Regions from separate parts of the Homo sapiens genome. Here region 1 is linked to region 2. Evidence: promoter capture Hi-C in 16 types of primary human blood cells and fetal thymus (Javierre and others, 2016). All regions are on one chromosome and are shown on one strand. The core of a region is centred on a gene start or on the middle of the fragment in contact, and the rest is flanking DNA. Distances in the headings are between cores, read along the strand shown. Region 1 holds the start of METTL1 (methyltransferase 1, tRNA methylguanosine). Region 2 overlaps ARHGAP9 (Rho GTPase activating protein 9).

Evidence for each region. Contacts are between HindIII fragments. The CHiCAGO score rates a contact against its expected background, and 5 or more counts as called.
Region 1: the fragment with the promoter of METTL1 here is called in contact with a fragment that was not itself captured in region 2 in 6 of 17 cell types (total B cells, naive CD8 T cells, activated CD4 T cells and 3 more); the score reaches 6.5 in total B cells.

What each region holds. Positions count from the first base shown.
Region 1 is chr12:57,766,312-57,773,363 of GRCh38, reverse strand. It overlaps METTL1 (methyltransferase 1, tRNA methylguanosine), which reads left to right and starts at 1,259. Exons shown (of 6, transcript NM_005371.6): 1 at 1,259-1,390; 2 at 2,107-2,270; 3 at 3,408-3,592; 4 at 3,686-3,799; 5 at 3,960-4,061; 6 at 4,213-4,893. The coding sequence starts at 1,281. The coding sequence ends at 4,368. EEF1AKMT3 (EEF1A lysine methyltransferase 3) reads right to left here and starts at 750. Exons shown (of 3, transcript NM_015433.3): 1 at 463-750; 2 at 236-347. The coding sequence starts at 639. CYP27B1 (cytochrome P450 family 27 subfamily B member 1) reads left to right here and starts at 6,286. Exons shown (of 9, transcript NM_000785.4): 1 at 6,286-6,517. The coding sequence starts at 6,323. RefSeq lists enhancers at 586-1,095, 1,226-1,515, 1,201-2,400. The HindIII fragment of the contact is 5,954 bases long and covers 1-5,402 here.
Region 2 is chr12:57,469,434-57,475,829 of GRCh38, reverse strand. ARHGAP9 (Rho GTPase activating protein 9) reads left to right here. Exons shown (of 18, transcript NM_032496.4): 11 at 215-347; 12 at 432-539; 13 at 857-955; 14 at 1,127-1,204; 15 at 1,354-1,407; 16 at 1,654-1,788; 17 at 2,122-2,227; 18 at 3,142-3,561. The coding sequence ends at 3,313. It overlaps GLI1 (GLI family zinc finger 1), which reads right to left. Exons shown (of 12, transcript NM_005269.3): 11 at 6,132-6,396; 12 at 3,562-5,513. The coding sequence ends at 3,769. Among named protein-coding and RNA genes, the nearest start is that of ARHGAP9, 7.2 kb to the left of the region's middle. The HindIII fragment of the contact is 536 bases long and covers 1,185-1,720 here.

The DNA of each region.
Region 1 (7,052 bases), core at 10-2,509, 300 kb before region 2:
TTCCTGCCCTCCCCAATCACCCACCCTAGGTGCTTTGACAGGCAATTCGCGCTGTCTGGCACGCAGAAGCAGACGCCAAAATAAAAACAAAAACAAATTTTAAAAAAAAATTTGTTAAAAAGAAGGGGTTAGACTGGGCCCAAAGTTCTCCCCTCTCCCCCAAAGATCCACGAAGTGACCATTTCTCCGCGCCCCTGGGTCCCCACTCTCTCCCGTAAAAAGCCAGCTCACGCACCCTGCAGCGCTGCCAAGATCCCCACGATGCCTGTCCCCGCACCCAGTTCGATCACCTTCTTGCCTCGGAAATCCACATTTTGACTCTCGAAATAATTGCACAGGCTCAGGGCCTACGGGAGAAAAGACAGAGAAAAAGACAGTCGTGAGGATGGCTCCATATGGGAGAGGCGGAGTCCGGGATCTGGACCTCCCACGGACCCTCACCCGGCGCAGCCCATTCCTCACCGCGTCCCACACGCGCGCCGCCACCCCGAGGCGGGACCCAAAGTTCTGCGTGATGGTCAGCACATGCCCACAGAAACAGAACTGGCTCTTCTCCGAGTAAGAGTCTGCAAAGAGCCCGACCTCCCGCGGGAACACCGATTCCGACTCAGATTCGGGATCTGGGCCGGGGTCCGCCATCCGGCCCGCCAAGGGAGTGCCTGGGCACCGCGGCCGGCGCTCAGATCCCGGATCCGGAGCGGGGTAGAGGCTGGGGGCCGCGAGCCGTCGTGGTGTCCCTGTGGAACGAGCCCCGCCTCCCTGAGTTTGCCCTCCTTCCTCCAGTTCGATTTCCTGGAGGTGGAATGAGGAGCTGCCCCTCCCGCCCCGGCCCCGAGCGCACACTCGACGAAACCCACACGGGACCACAAGAGTCAGACCGGGCGGACTGGTCCGAGACCAGGAGTAAGGGGACAGGAGCGAGGACTGATGCCACTGTAGAAGGCGAGGTCTCTAGACCCCTCTCACCTGTGGGGTGCACAGGTGCCTGCAACCAGGATGGTAACCCAGACCAGGCAGAAGCAAGCTAAGAGAAAACGTTGGGTCCCTGGGCCTGGCCTCGCCCTCCCAGTTGGAGGCTAACGGTGCGGAGGTTCCCTCCAGCACTCGCTCCTTACAGCCCTCCCCACCTAGCCCAGCCCAGCCCAGCCCAGCCCAGCTGAATTTGCTCTTGGGTCTTTAAGGGGCGGGAACTGCCACCAACGCGCATGGCTGCGTCATTAACTTGCGCCTCTGGCCTGCGCCTCCACGTGGATTTGGTAGAGAAACCCCGGACTGGGATCATGGCAGCCGAGACTCGGAACGTGGCCGGAGCAGAGGCCCCACCGCCCCAGAAGCGCTACTACCGGCAACGTGCTCACTCCAACCCCATGGCGGACCACACGCTGCGCTAGTGAGGAGTGGGCAGAGGGAGAGAGAGGAGGGCGGGATTCTCAAAGCAGCCGGGAGAGCAGTTGTGCTGCAACTGCTGGGAGGATTTGGGGTAGACCCGGGAGGATCAGATGGGTGACGTCAGTTTTTGGGGGTGGGACCGGGAGATTCGACCGAGAGAGGAGTTGGCGGGTTGAGAGTGGGCGTGGCGTTCGGGCCTAAGTCTGGGTAGCGGTGCTAAGTTTGGGAAGAGAAATAAATTGTTACTGAGACTGAAGTGATAGAGGCAGAATGTCGTTTCCATCTTTTGCTTTTGTTTGTTGGATTTAATAAAAAGGCAAACATATACACAATCCTGCCCGCACCTTACCTTACCTTCCCTCCCCGCAGAGCACAAACACAAAGTAGGATCCCAGTGCATTAGGCAGCCAGTCTCGGGAGAAGGGGAACTTGTGCCCCAGAAAGGGCAGTTACCCGGCCAGGGTCACATCAACCGCCAGAAGTGGAGTTGGGCAGGTCAGCGTTTATGGGCCTCATGATGGTCCTATGATTCACACTGGGAGTTAAGGGTGGTTTCCATTGTCCCTCTTAGAGGCCACAGGGCCCAGTGTTACAGAATTTTTGAGAAACCCTCCTCCCTTTTACCTCCCACCCTCACCCACCCACACACTCTCACAGTACCACTTCTGCAATGGTGTGACCAACCTTCTCATGCTTCTTATGTCTTCTTTCCAATAGCCCTGTGAAGCCAGAGGAGATGGACTGGTCTGAGCTATACCCAGAGTTCTTCGCTCCACTCACTCAAAATCAGAGCCACGATGACCCAAAGGATAAGAAAGAAAAGAGAGCTCAGGCCCAAGTGGAGTTTGCAGACATAGGCTGTGGCTATGGTGGCCTGTTAGGTAACACTCAGGCCCTCTTTTTGGGGTGAGAAGAGGCCTAGTAGCTTCTGCTGCCTCAGCAACTTTTGTGGGGGGTCATAATTGGCCTTTCCCCTTTCGTCCAGACACTGGTGACATCAGCATGGAGAGGCTCCACCTACCCTCTACTCTGGGTCTGTGACCTTTGCCCTGGAGAGTGGAGGGGGCTGCCTCAAATGCTTCTTAAAACCTGGGTTGTCCTTTCTGGCGTCAATCCCTACATGAGCCATTTCATCTGCCAGGTTCCGGGTCAGTGAGCTGGTCAGCACAAGCATCAGAGATTAGCCGTTGTGGCCAGTGATCCTGAACTGTCTTTTCTCAGAGATTCTACCATCTCCCCTCCCCTTTGCCCCTCCCTCGCCAGATCTCATTCCTTCTGCCCCACTCTCCTGTTTTTTGGGTTCCTCTTGTATTGTCTGTATTGTCCCACCCATGCATGCCAAGCCACTCCCTATTTTTAGATCTTCCCAAACAGATAACAGCCTGATAGAGAAGAAGAGCATGGTACATAGAGGCAGAAAACCTTGGTTTAAGGTCCAGTTCTGCCTGGGCACAGTGGCTCACACCTGTAATCCCAACACTTTGGGAGGCTGAGGCAGGTGGACCACTTGAGGCCAGGAGTTCAAGACCAGCTACTCAGGAGGCTGAGGCAGGAGAATTACTTGAACCTGGGAGGCAGAGATTGCAGTGAGCCAAGATTGTGCCACTGCACTCCAGCCTGGGTGACAGAGCAAGACTCCATCTCAAATAAATAAGTTCCAGTTCTGCCCCTTCTTAACTCTATGATCTTCGGCATATCTGACCCTCAGTTTCCTTATCTTCACAATTTACCACAGAGTGTTATAAGGATGAAATAACACAATGTGTGAAAACACTGTGGAAAACTCTAAAGCAATGGCAAATATACATGTATCCTCAGCCCTCCCATTCTGGTCCTGGTGACAATTTTCATTTCTCCCCCCGCCTCTTGAGCATAAAACTATCCATATATGTATCTCTGTCCTCTCTTGCCGTTCTGGACTTTGGTAGTTGCAGGTTGAGGCTTCCTTTCCTGTGTTGACCCCTTTGCACTTCCTACAAGTATATGGTTGATGATTCCATTGCTATTTCTGTGTGCAGTGGAACTGTCACCGCTGTTCCCAGACACACTTATTCTGGGTCTGGAGATCCGGGTGAAGGTCTCAGACTATGTACAAGACCGGATTCGGGCCCTACGCGCAGCTCCTGCAGGTGGCTTCCAGAACATCGCCTGTCTCCGTAGCAATGCCATGAAGCACCTTCCTAACTTCTTCTACAAGGGCCAGGTGGGGAGGGGCCCTGGTGGGTTAGGCTGGTAGGCAGGTGGGGGCATGGAGGCCAGGCTCTCACAACCCTGTTGGTGTGTGTCTGTCTCACAGCTGACAAAGATGTTCTTCCTCTTCCCCGACCCACATTTCAAGCGGACAAAGCACAAGTGGCGAATCATCAGTCCCACCCTGCTAGCAGAATATGCCTACGTGCTAAGAGTTGGGGTGAGTTGGGATCGGAGGGATGATGGGGTGAGTGGCCTACTCAGGGGCCCTTCACTAAGAATTCAGTGGGGGTGCATTTAGGGACTCACACCACCACTTCCTTCATCTGGCTGCTGACGTTGCATGCAGCCTCCTGTCTAGGGTGATTTTGCCTATGCAGGGGCTGGTGTATACCATAACCGATGTGCTGGAGCTACACGACTGGATGTGCACTCATTTCGAAGAGCACCCACTGTTTGAGCGTGTGCCTCTGGAGGACCTGGTGAGTAGGGGACCTAGAGGAGGTGGAGGCCCTTTCCAGAGTGGTTCTGTATTTGGACTTAACTCAGTGCCAGGAGGATGGGATAGGTGTCTAAGGGCCAGGGGCAGTCTGAACAGTGGGCAAGGACTTATTGGACCCTTCCTTCTCCCAGAGTGAAGACCCCGTTGTGGGACATCTAGGCACCTCAACTGAGGAGGGGAAGAAAGTTCTACGTAATGGAGGGAAGAATTTCCCAGCCATCTTCCGAAGAATACAAGATCCCGTCCTCCAGGCAGTGACCTCCCAAACCAGCCTGCCTGGTCACTGACTGCTTACTCTACCTTAGCTGGACCTCGTCTCCCAGGGATTAGAGAAAAGAGCAGGAGTCCTGGGTCTTCCCAGTTGAGACTGCTGGAGCTGAGACACAGTACTCTCTTAAAGAAGGTGGGGAGCTGCCCAGGGCAGAACCCACTGGTGTTCATGACTACCCCTGGCTCCTCTCACCTTGTCCCTCCACTGCCAACAGAAAACAAAGCAGCTGACTGAGATGGTCAAAGGACTTTGGACCATAGGGGATCTTTGGAAGGCTGTGGGGTCTTGCTCTTCCTTAGCACTCCTTTCTCCTTGTGAGATCTCTCCTCAGCTGGAATGAGGAATGTAGTCCATCTAAACTGCTTGCTAGGCTCAATTACCACTTCTGTTTGCTTTGTGGATCCTGGGATAACATGTATATGTGTACACATGCCTATTCTGCCATTTCTCAGGAAAGGGTGGAGTATGTATCATATGCCTTCTACCATCCTCCTGTCCTCTCCCTGCGTAAGACTTGACCTGGGGAATCTGTGTTCCCTAAGTGTTGTCTCTGGAGAGTCCTTGGGAAGGTGTGGGGGTGGAGACCCTCTCCTTTTTCACATTGACCTTCAATTCCAGAACTTCAGAGCTAGCTGACTGGCACAGAGCCTGATAGAGTTGCAGTGGGGAATGAGGGAGTAAGGAGCAGAGAGGTAAACTGTGGGAGATTCTTTTATTTTAATTTTTTTTAGAGACAGGCCCTCTCTCTGTTGCCTAGGCTGGAGTGCAGTGGTACAATCATAACTCACTGCAGCCTTGACCTCCCGGGCTCATGTAATCCACCTCAGCCTCTCAAGGCACTACAGGCATACGCCACCATGCCTGGCTAATTTTTGTATTTTTTGTAGAGACAGTTCCACTATGTTGCCCAGGCTGGTCTCAGACTCCTGAGCTCAAGCAGTCTGCCCACCTTAGCCTCCCAAAGTGTTGGGATTACAGTCATGAGCTGCCGTGCCCAGCCTAATTTTTAAACTTCTTCTGTAGAGACAGTCTTGCTATGTTGCTCAAGCTTGTCTCAACCTCCTGGCCTCATGCCATCCTCCTGCCTCAGCCTCCCAAAGTGCTGGGATTATAGGCATGAGCCACCACAGGATTCTGAGGCTAAAAGTAGAAAGGAGCTGCTAACCAGAAAGCCCCCCAGAGGAGACCGAGTCAGCTGGGGAATTAGAACATCCACATCCATTTAGCTCCTCTAACACCCCACAGACAATCTCTGAACTTAACTAATGTACAAAAAGTTTCATTTCTGCTTCTCAAGCCCCAAATTCCCATGTCTGGAAGGAGGGGGCTTGTATACCCAAGAGACCCCCTTATCCTCAAGAAAGAAAGATGGAGGTTCTAGGAGCCATTTTAGCCCATTAACCCACCTGCCATCTGCCCAGTATATGTTAGGTACAGGAGGAGGGGGAGGTGTGGCTAGTGCAGGAAAATAATGCAGAGAAGATACAACCCACTAAGCCAAGAATGTGGGGACAGTTACAGCTGTGCCTCCCCTGCTTCCCTTCCTGGAGGAGCTGAAAGATGGGGAATTCCTGAGGATGGGCCTAAAGGGGCTGGGCTCACTGGTAGAAGTGGGAATATCAGAGACTGACTAGTGTAGCTTGGTCACCTAGTCCCTACTAAAAAGCCTTATAGCCTTTCCTAGGATGAGACTTTGAGGCTCCTAGACAAAGGCACTCTCCCAGGAGGAAAATCTTAGGCCCTCCCTCCCATGAGGGTCATTGCAACATGAGACCCAAGGGAGTTGTGAAGTCAGCCCCAGCCCCGCCTACTGTTCCTGGGTGCTAATCCCCAGCACAGACCACTCAGGAGGAGGGATTGGCTGAGGAGCTTGGAGAGGGGGCGTCATCACCTCACCCAAAGGTTAAATAGGGGTTGAGATATGATGCTCAGGAGAAGCGCTTTCTTTCGCGAGCACCCTGAACCAGACCATGACCCAGACCCTCAAGTACGCCTCCAGAGTGTTCCATCGCGTCCGCTGGGCGCCCGAGTTGGGCGCCTCCCTAGGCTACCGAGAGTACCACTCAGCACGCCGGAGCTTGGCAGACATCCCAGGCCCCTCTACGCCCAGCTTTCTGGCCGAACTTTTCTGCAAGGGGGGGCTGTCGAGGCTACACGAGCTGCAGGTAGGAAGGGACGCCTTTCCCGAGACAGAGTGCTGGGGAAACTGGTTTTGACAGCGTCAGAAAGGACTGACTAGTGCAGAGCAAATGTGGGACAGCCAGAGAGAACGGATGCCCATGAAATAAGGAAAAGGCGAGTTGAGGCTGGGGGCGGTGTGGCTACACTCGGGCAGAGCCCGTCCCGACTCTTAGCAGAGGGCGCTGCGAAAGCGCCTTCTCGCTGTCCTGAGGTGTGGAGATCCTGCAGATAAAGTACAAGTGCGCGGGAGGGGGAGGCCGGAGTGGGCAGTACCCTCCGCCTGCTTGCGGCTTAAAGCTACATGGGTTCCTTTTCATTCACTGAGGACTCGTCCTGAGATGGACAGTCCAGACATGGAACTTTTAGAGATTTCTCCTCGACCGAGATGATCAGAGAGGTCCTGAATGTCTGCCTTGCACAAAGTTCCGGTTTTGCCCATCACACTCAAACTTTCTAGGGATGGGAAATGAGAGAGGAGGAGTTTGCAGTATCAAAGGCATACACTAGTTGGGCACCCGA
Region 2 (6,396 bases), core at 203-2,702:
AGATGGGTGGAGGCCCGGAGGGAGGCTCCGACCGGCCGGGACCAAGGGAGTGGGGTAGGAACGATAGGAGTCAGGAGCAGTTGGGGGCAGGGTGGGCTCAGTGGAGAGCCCTTGCCTGGGCCGGGATGTGGGACCCCGGCAGTGGGTCAGAGTCCAGCTAGGGATACAGATTTCTCTCCTCTCTCACCTTCGACACGGCCCGCCCCGGGTCTAGGATCGGGAGAACCCCCTGGAGCTGCGTCTGTCGGGCTCTGGACCCGCGGAGCTGAGCGCCGGGGAGGACGAAGAAGAGGAGTCGGAGCTGGTGTCCAAGCCGCTGCTGCGCCTCAGCAGCCGCCGGAGCTCCAGTGAGGCGCGGGCTGGGGAGGGAGAGTCCGGGAGCGCAGCGAGGCTCCCGGGCGCTCACGCCCCGCTCTACCTGCCTCCTGCAGTTCGGGGGCCCGAAGGCACCGAGCAGAACCGCGTGCGCAACAAACTAAAGCGGCTCATCGCGAAGAGACCGCCCTTACAAAGCCTGCAGGAGCGGGGTCTGCTCCGAGGTGAGGGGGCTGGGCCAGGTTCATGGATAAGAAAACTCCAGCGAGGCTCAGAGTAGAGCTTCCCAGAACTAGACCACAACCTTCTGTGACTGCTGCTTTCCCACTACCCCAGATTGTTTAGGGGAGAAGCTGGGGTGACCTGTACCCCTTTGCCAGATTGTTTGAAGCAGGGGAAGGGAGGTGGAGTGTATTTCCTTGCCCAGGCCTGGCACAGGCAGCCAGGAGGACCAGCCTCACTTAAGGATAAAGACCTATGCTGAGAAGAGCTCCTGTGAGTGACGCTGGCACTGGCTTCCCGCCTCACTCTACTTCCCCAGACCAGGTGTTCGGCTGCCAGTTGGAATCACTCTGCCAGCGGGAAGGAGACACGGTGCCCAGCTTTTTGCGGCTCTGCATTGCTGCTGTGGATAAAAGAGGTCATTTTCTCAGAGACCCCAGAATCCTCTTCCAACAGGCTAAGGCCTAGAATTTTCTGCCTCCCCCATTCTACCTAGTCTTCCTACTGCCCTTTTTCTCTCCACCCTTATATCCCTCACCACACACACTTTCAAGCAGCAGTCCTTATCTACTCCTTCCTCATCTCCCAGGTCTAGATGTGGATGGCATTTATCGGGTGAGCGGGAACTTGGCAGTGGTCCAGAAGCTTCGCTTTCTGGTGGACAGAGGTGAGAAGGCTTGTGGGCCAGTGGTTGTACTAAGAATGTCTTGCCTGAGAACCATGGGCGGTCCTACATGAGGAAGCTGGCAGAATAGAGAGGCCGTCAGGCTGGAAGTGTATGTCTTAGCTCCTGATCTCTCCTCATTCATGTTGCAGAGCGTGCGGTCACCTCCGATGGGAGGTATGTGTTCCCAGAACAGCCAGGACAAGGTACTTACATGGAAGACCCTTCAGATCCCTAAAACTTCCACATATCCTCTTTGCTTCCCGTGGAAACCCCCATGTACTATTCCTGGGAGGGTTGTCCTCATCCCCACCTTAGCTACCTTGCCCCACTGCAGACCCTCTAGGCATTCCTATAGTCTGCTTTGACTGGATTTCTCCAGAACTTCTAATCTCTCAGTCTCTAAATCTTTCTGGCCCTTCATGAGCCCCTATACCTCCTTCTCCCTCCAGAAGGTCGGTTAGATTTGGACAGTACTGAGTGGGATGACATTCATGTGGTCACCGGAGCCCTGAAGCTTTTTCTCCGGGAGCTGCCCCAGCCTCTGGTGCCACCACTGCTGCTGCCCCATTTCCGTGCTGCCCTTGGTAAGGGTTGGAGCTTTGGAAAGAACCCTTGATGTGGGGGACACGGGTGGTAAATAATAGAATAGAGGTTCCCTTATACTCTTCTTTCCCATTCTGACTTTAGAGATGGAAAATAATGTTCAACTCAGGTGCCTACTCCAGTTGCTTTTTTGTGAATGTTTAGAGGGCTGAATTGAAAAGAATTATGAGGCTATAGTTGGGCTATGTGAAAAAGAAAGCTGTGCTAGATTAATGATGTCTTCCATGCCTGTGGGAAAGAGCAGTGCATTTACCCATCCTGTCCTAGCACCTTCCCTAACCTTACTACCATGCCTTTCCCATCACTCTCTCTAGCACTCTCCGAATCAGAGCAGTGCCTCTCTCAGATACAAGAATTAATAGGCTCAATGCCAAAGCCCAACCATGACACTCTACGGTACCTCCTGGAGCATTTATGCAGGTCAGGAAGACAGAACCTCTTTGTTCATGCTGGGGAAAGGTGGAGTGGGGAATGCCACAGGGACTCTGTGCAGGTGGAGTGAAGGTAGGGAAGCACCTAAGTTTAATGGGCAGGTGAGGAAGCAGGCAACCTCTGTGCAGGAGCATATTACCAGAGTCAAAACCTTTATTTTTTTATTTTATTTATTTTTGAGACAGAGTCTCGCTCTGTCACCCAGACTGGAGTGCAGTGGCGCAATTTCAGCTCACTGCAACCTCTGCCTCCCGGGTTCAAGTAATTCTCCTGCCTCAGCCTCCTGAGTAACTGGGATTACAGGTGCCCGCCACCACGCCTGGCTAATTTTTGTATTTTTAGTAGAGACGGGGTTTCACCATGTTGGCCAGGCTGGTCTCGAACTCCTGACCTCAGGTGATTTACCCACCTCAGCCTCCCAAAGTGCTGGGATTACACCGTGCCCGTCAAAGACTTTAGGTCAAAACCTAAAGGTCAGCATCAAGTGGGGAAATGGAACCAAGATGCTGTGAAAGGAATAAGGGAAATCTTACTTCTCCCTTCCCTCTGCCTCTTTGTCTCCCATTGGGACATTGCTGATGGCTTCTTTGGTTGAACTGGGCCTGGGCAGTGACTTCTGAGAGAGGATGGCCACTTGAATTAAAGACTCCCAAACTGTGAGCAGGCAGAACTCTTGGGGCAGCCCCTGAAGTCGGAAGAGGCAGTTATATCTTCAGGTTGTATCCTGAAGGTTTCTCCACTGGTCCATCTCCATTCTCCTTGTATCTCCTTGGTTTTTTTGTTACCATGTGGAGGAATCCCAGAGTGAACTCTTCCCTGCTCAGAACTTTGAAGGGTTAGTTAGATTGCTATGAAGTGGCAAGCTGCTGCCATATATCCCCTTCCTTGGCCTTTGCTTACAGGGTGATAGCACACTCAGATAAGAATCGCATGACACCCCACAACCTGGGAATTGTGTTTGGACCAACCCTGTTTCGGCCAGAGCAGGAGACATCTGACCCAGCAGCCCATGCTCTCTACCCAGGGCAGCTGGTCCAGCTGATGCTCACCAACTTCACCAGCCTCTTCCCCTGATGCAGGGAAGGAAGAAGAGAAAACATATTTCCGGTCATCTCTGGTGGTGAGAGGCTGGTGTTCTGTTTTGAGGATATCCCTTTAAATCTCCCAAATGACTGTCTCTATCTTCATGAGTGTGACTTGAGGTGTTGGGATGGGTGAGGGAGCTTCTCTAAAGAGGAAAGTGAGTGGATTAACCCCTGCTTCTCTTCTTGTTCCCTGTTATCATTCCTCCCCAACATAATAATACATAAAGTGGCATGGTATTTTTTCTGATGCAGTTCCTTTATTATCAGGAAACAGTGTCATTATCAAATTTCTCCTCAAAACGTATACAGACTATACATAGCCCCCAGCCCATACCTCCCATCCCTGGGGCATCTTGTGCATGGGACTGCAGCTCCCCCAATTTTTCTGGAAGGATAGAAACCCCTTAGGAAATGCGATCTGTGATGGATGAGATTCCCTACTCTTTAGGCACTAGAGTTGAGGAATTCTGTTTCCCCAGGTAGGGATCTCAGTAAGACACTCATGTTGCCCACAGCCATGTTGGGGGGCCCAGAGGGAGGTGGGGTATGTCCAGAGCTGCCCCGCTGATCATGGGAAGGAGGAGGACTCAGCCCCTGGGGCTCATCCAGAATAGCCACAAAGTCCAGCTGAGTGTTGTCAAGATCAAGAGAGTCCAGGGGGTTACATACCTGTCCTTCGGGAGGAGGGTACAAGGCAGGACCCCCTCCTAGCCTGCCCACCTCAGGATGACCACAGCTGGGGTTTGTGCCTCCCACTTTGAGAGGCCCATAGCAAGTGGGCAATGGGGGCAGAAGTCGAGGTGGTGCTGCTGCCCTATGTGAAGCCCTATTTGCCCCCACTACAAAATTTTCATGGCATGGTGAAGGGGTGGGATAGGAACCTGACTTGTGATTGGGCAAGTTGGGTCCAAAGCCAGGTCCATATGTGTTCACTGGAGCTTTAGCACGGCTTGGGCTAACCTGGGAACCCCCCAGAAACTTGGGACTCTGGTAGGAAGGTTCCTGGGCGGGGGCATCTTCCCTGCCCCCACCCTCCCACAGTAGCTCCTGTTGAGATTGAACATAATTACACACAAGCTGAGCCTTGAGCTGCCCTGTGGAATGGGTGGGGGAATCAAAGTCCAGGCAAGGCCTGGGTTCTGAAGGAAGATAATCAGGGGGTGGCTGGGTATAGGGGCCTGACTGGAGATATTGGGGAGGAGAGGGCTGGGGGTAATGGGAAAAGAGAGGCTGTGGATGTGGGGGCCCCTCACTGGGGTGGGCATTGAGGCAGGGTGCCAGTCCTGTGGAGTCAGACCCCACTGGGCACCCCTGTTCTGGCTTGACTTGCACTTGTCCATAATGTTCAAGTCGAGGACACTGGCTGTAGGTTCCACCTAGAGCCTTGGGGCCTGGGTACAGCCCAGAGTGGGAAGGGAACTCACCCCATGTTTCTTGGGTGGGGTCAGGATATGAGGCCTGCTGGGGACAGGGGTTGGGGCCATAGTTGGTGGGTGGACCAGGCCCAAGAGGCAGAGAGCCTGGACCCCTCGCTCCATAAGGCTCAGCTGCTGCCCCTTCAGGTCCCCCATATCCCAGAGTATCAGTAGGTGGGAAGTCCATATAGGGGTTCAGACCACTGCCCACCATGGAGGTCCCAACTTCTGGCTCTTCCTGTAGCCCTCTAGCATCCATGGCAGCATTCTCAGTGATGCTGGGGGGCTGTGGTGAGTAGACAGAGGTTGGGAGGTAAGGATCAAAGTTCTGTCCTCCCCCTGCCACAGTGGGTGGGGTATGGACACAGCCCAGGCTCTTGAACCTCTGGACTCTAGCTGGAGCAGGACGGTCAGCAGCCTGGGCTGGGTCACTGGCCCTCCGGGTGACCCCTGCATTGGGGTTGTATCCTGGATACTCGGCTCGGCTTCTCCAAGGAGGCATGGGAAGACCACCTATCCGATCCAGGCTGGATGCTGCAGTGGGCGAAGTACCACCCCCTCTGGCTGAAGCATATCTTGCCCGAAGCAGGTAGTGCTGGGCAGGCATAAGGCCAGGCAGGGAGGATGCTCCATTCTCTGGTGGGGAGCCAGGGGGGAAAGGAGAGGCCAGGGAGGAGCGGCGGCTGACAGTATAGGCAGAGCTGATGCTGCTGGAGCTGCTGCTGCGGCGTTCAAGAGAGACTGGGGGGCCCACGCGGCGGGACACAGTGGTACCTGCAAGTGATGGGGAGAAAAGGTAGGATGGTCAAGGAGCTTCCTAAATTTCACCCTGCCTCCTCCATGCAACAGCCTTGCCCTGGATTCTCAGGGGTAAGCTCGTTATCCCTAACCAGTCTGTTCTGTCTCCTACTTCTCCCATGCCTATTCTGTTTCTGGGTTACCAAGGATTCAGGGTTGCTATGAACAGTTGTGCAGGTTGTGTGCTGCACAATCCTAGGGAACAGCATTCGCATCATAGCCTTTGCATACTTGTTTGTTTGTTTGTTTTGTTTTGTTTTGTTTGAAACAGAGTTTCGCTCTTGTTGCTCAAGTTGGAGTGCAATGGCGCAATCTCAGCTCACTGCAACCTCTGCCTCCCAGGTTCAAGCAATTCTCCTGCTTCAGCTTCCTGAGTAGCTGGGATTACAGGTGCCCACCACCATGCCTGGCTAGCCTTTGCATGTTTGTACATCACAACTATTTTCTGATAAATGGAAAGTGTCTTGAGGAAGGACACCATTTTCTAATTATACAAAAGTGCTGTGTGACAGCCCTCAAGGGTGACTTCCTCCTCTCAACCTCAGGGCAGGTCCAGATCTCACCCCAGCCACACCTCCCACACCCAGGTCTCACCGGTGTGGGACAAGCTGGGCAGTTTGAGACCCCGGGTCCCTATTGGCCGGAGTTGATGTAGCTGGTCCAGCCTGAGGTTCTCAAGGCGGCGAAGAGTGGACAGACCAGTGCCAGCAATGCAAGGTCCCTCGTCCAAGCTGGAGAGGTCTTCAGTGCTGCCCCCTGCATTGCCAGTCATTTCCACACCACTGTCTGTATTGGCTGCACTCCCTGCCGGGGAGTGGTCACTGCTGCAGGATGACTGGGCCCCAGGGCTTGGCTGTGG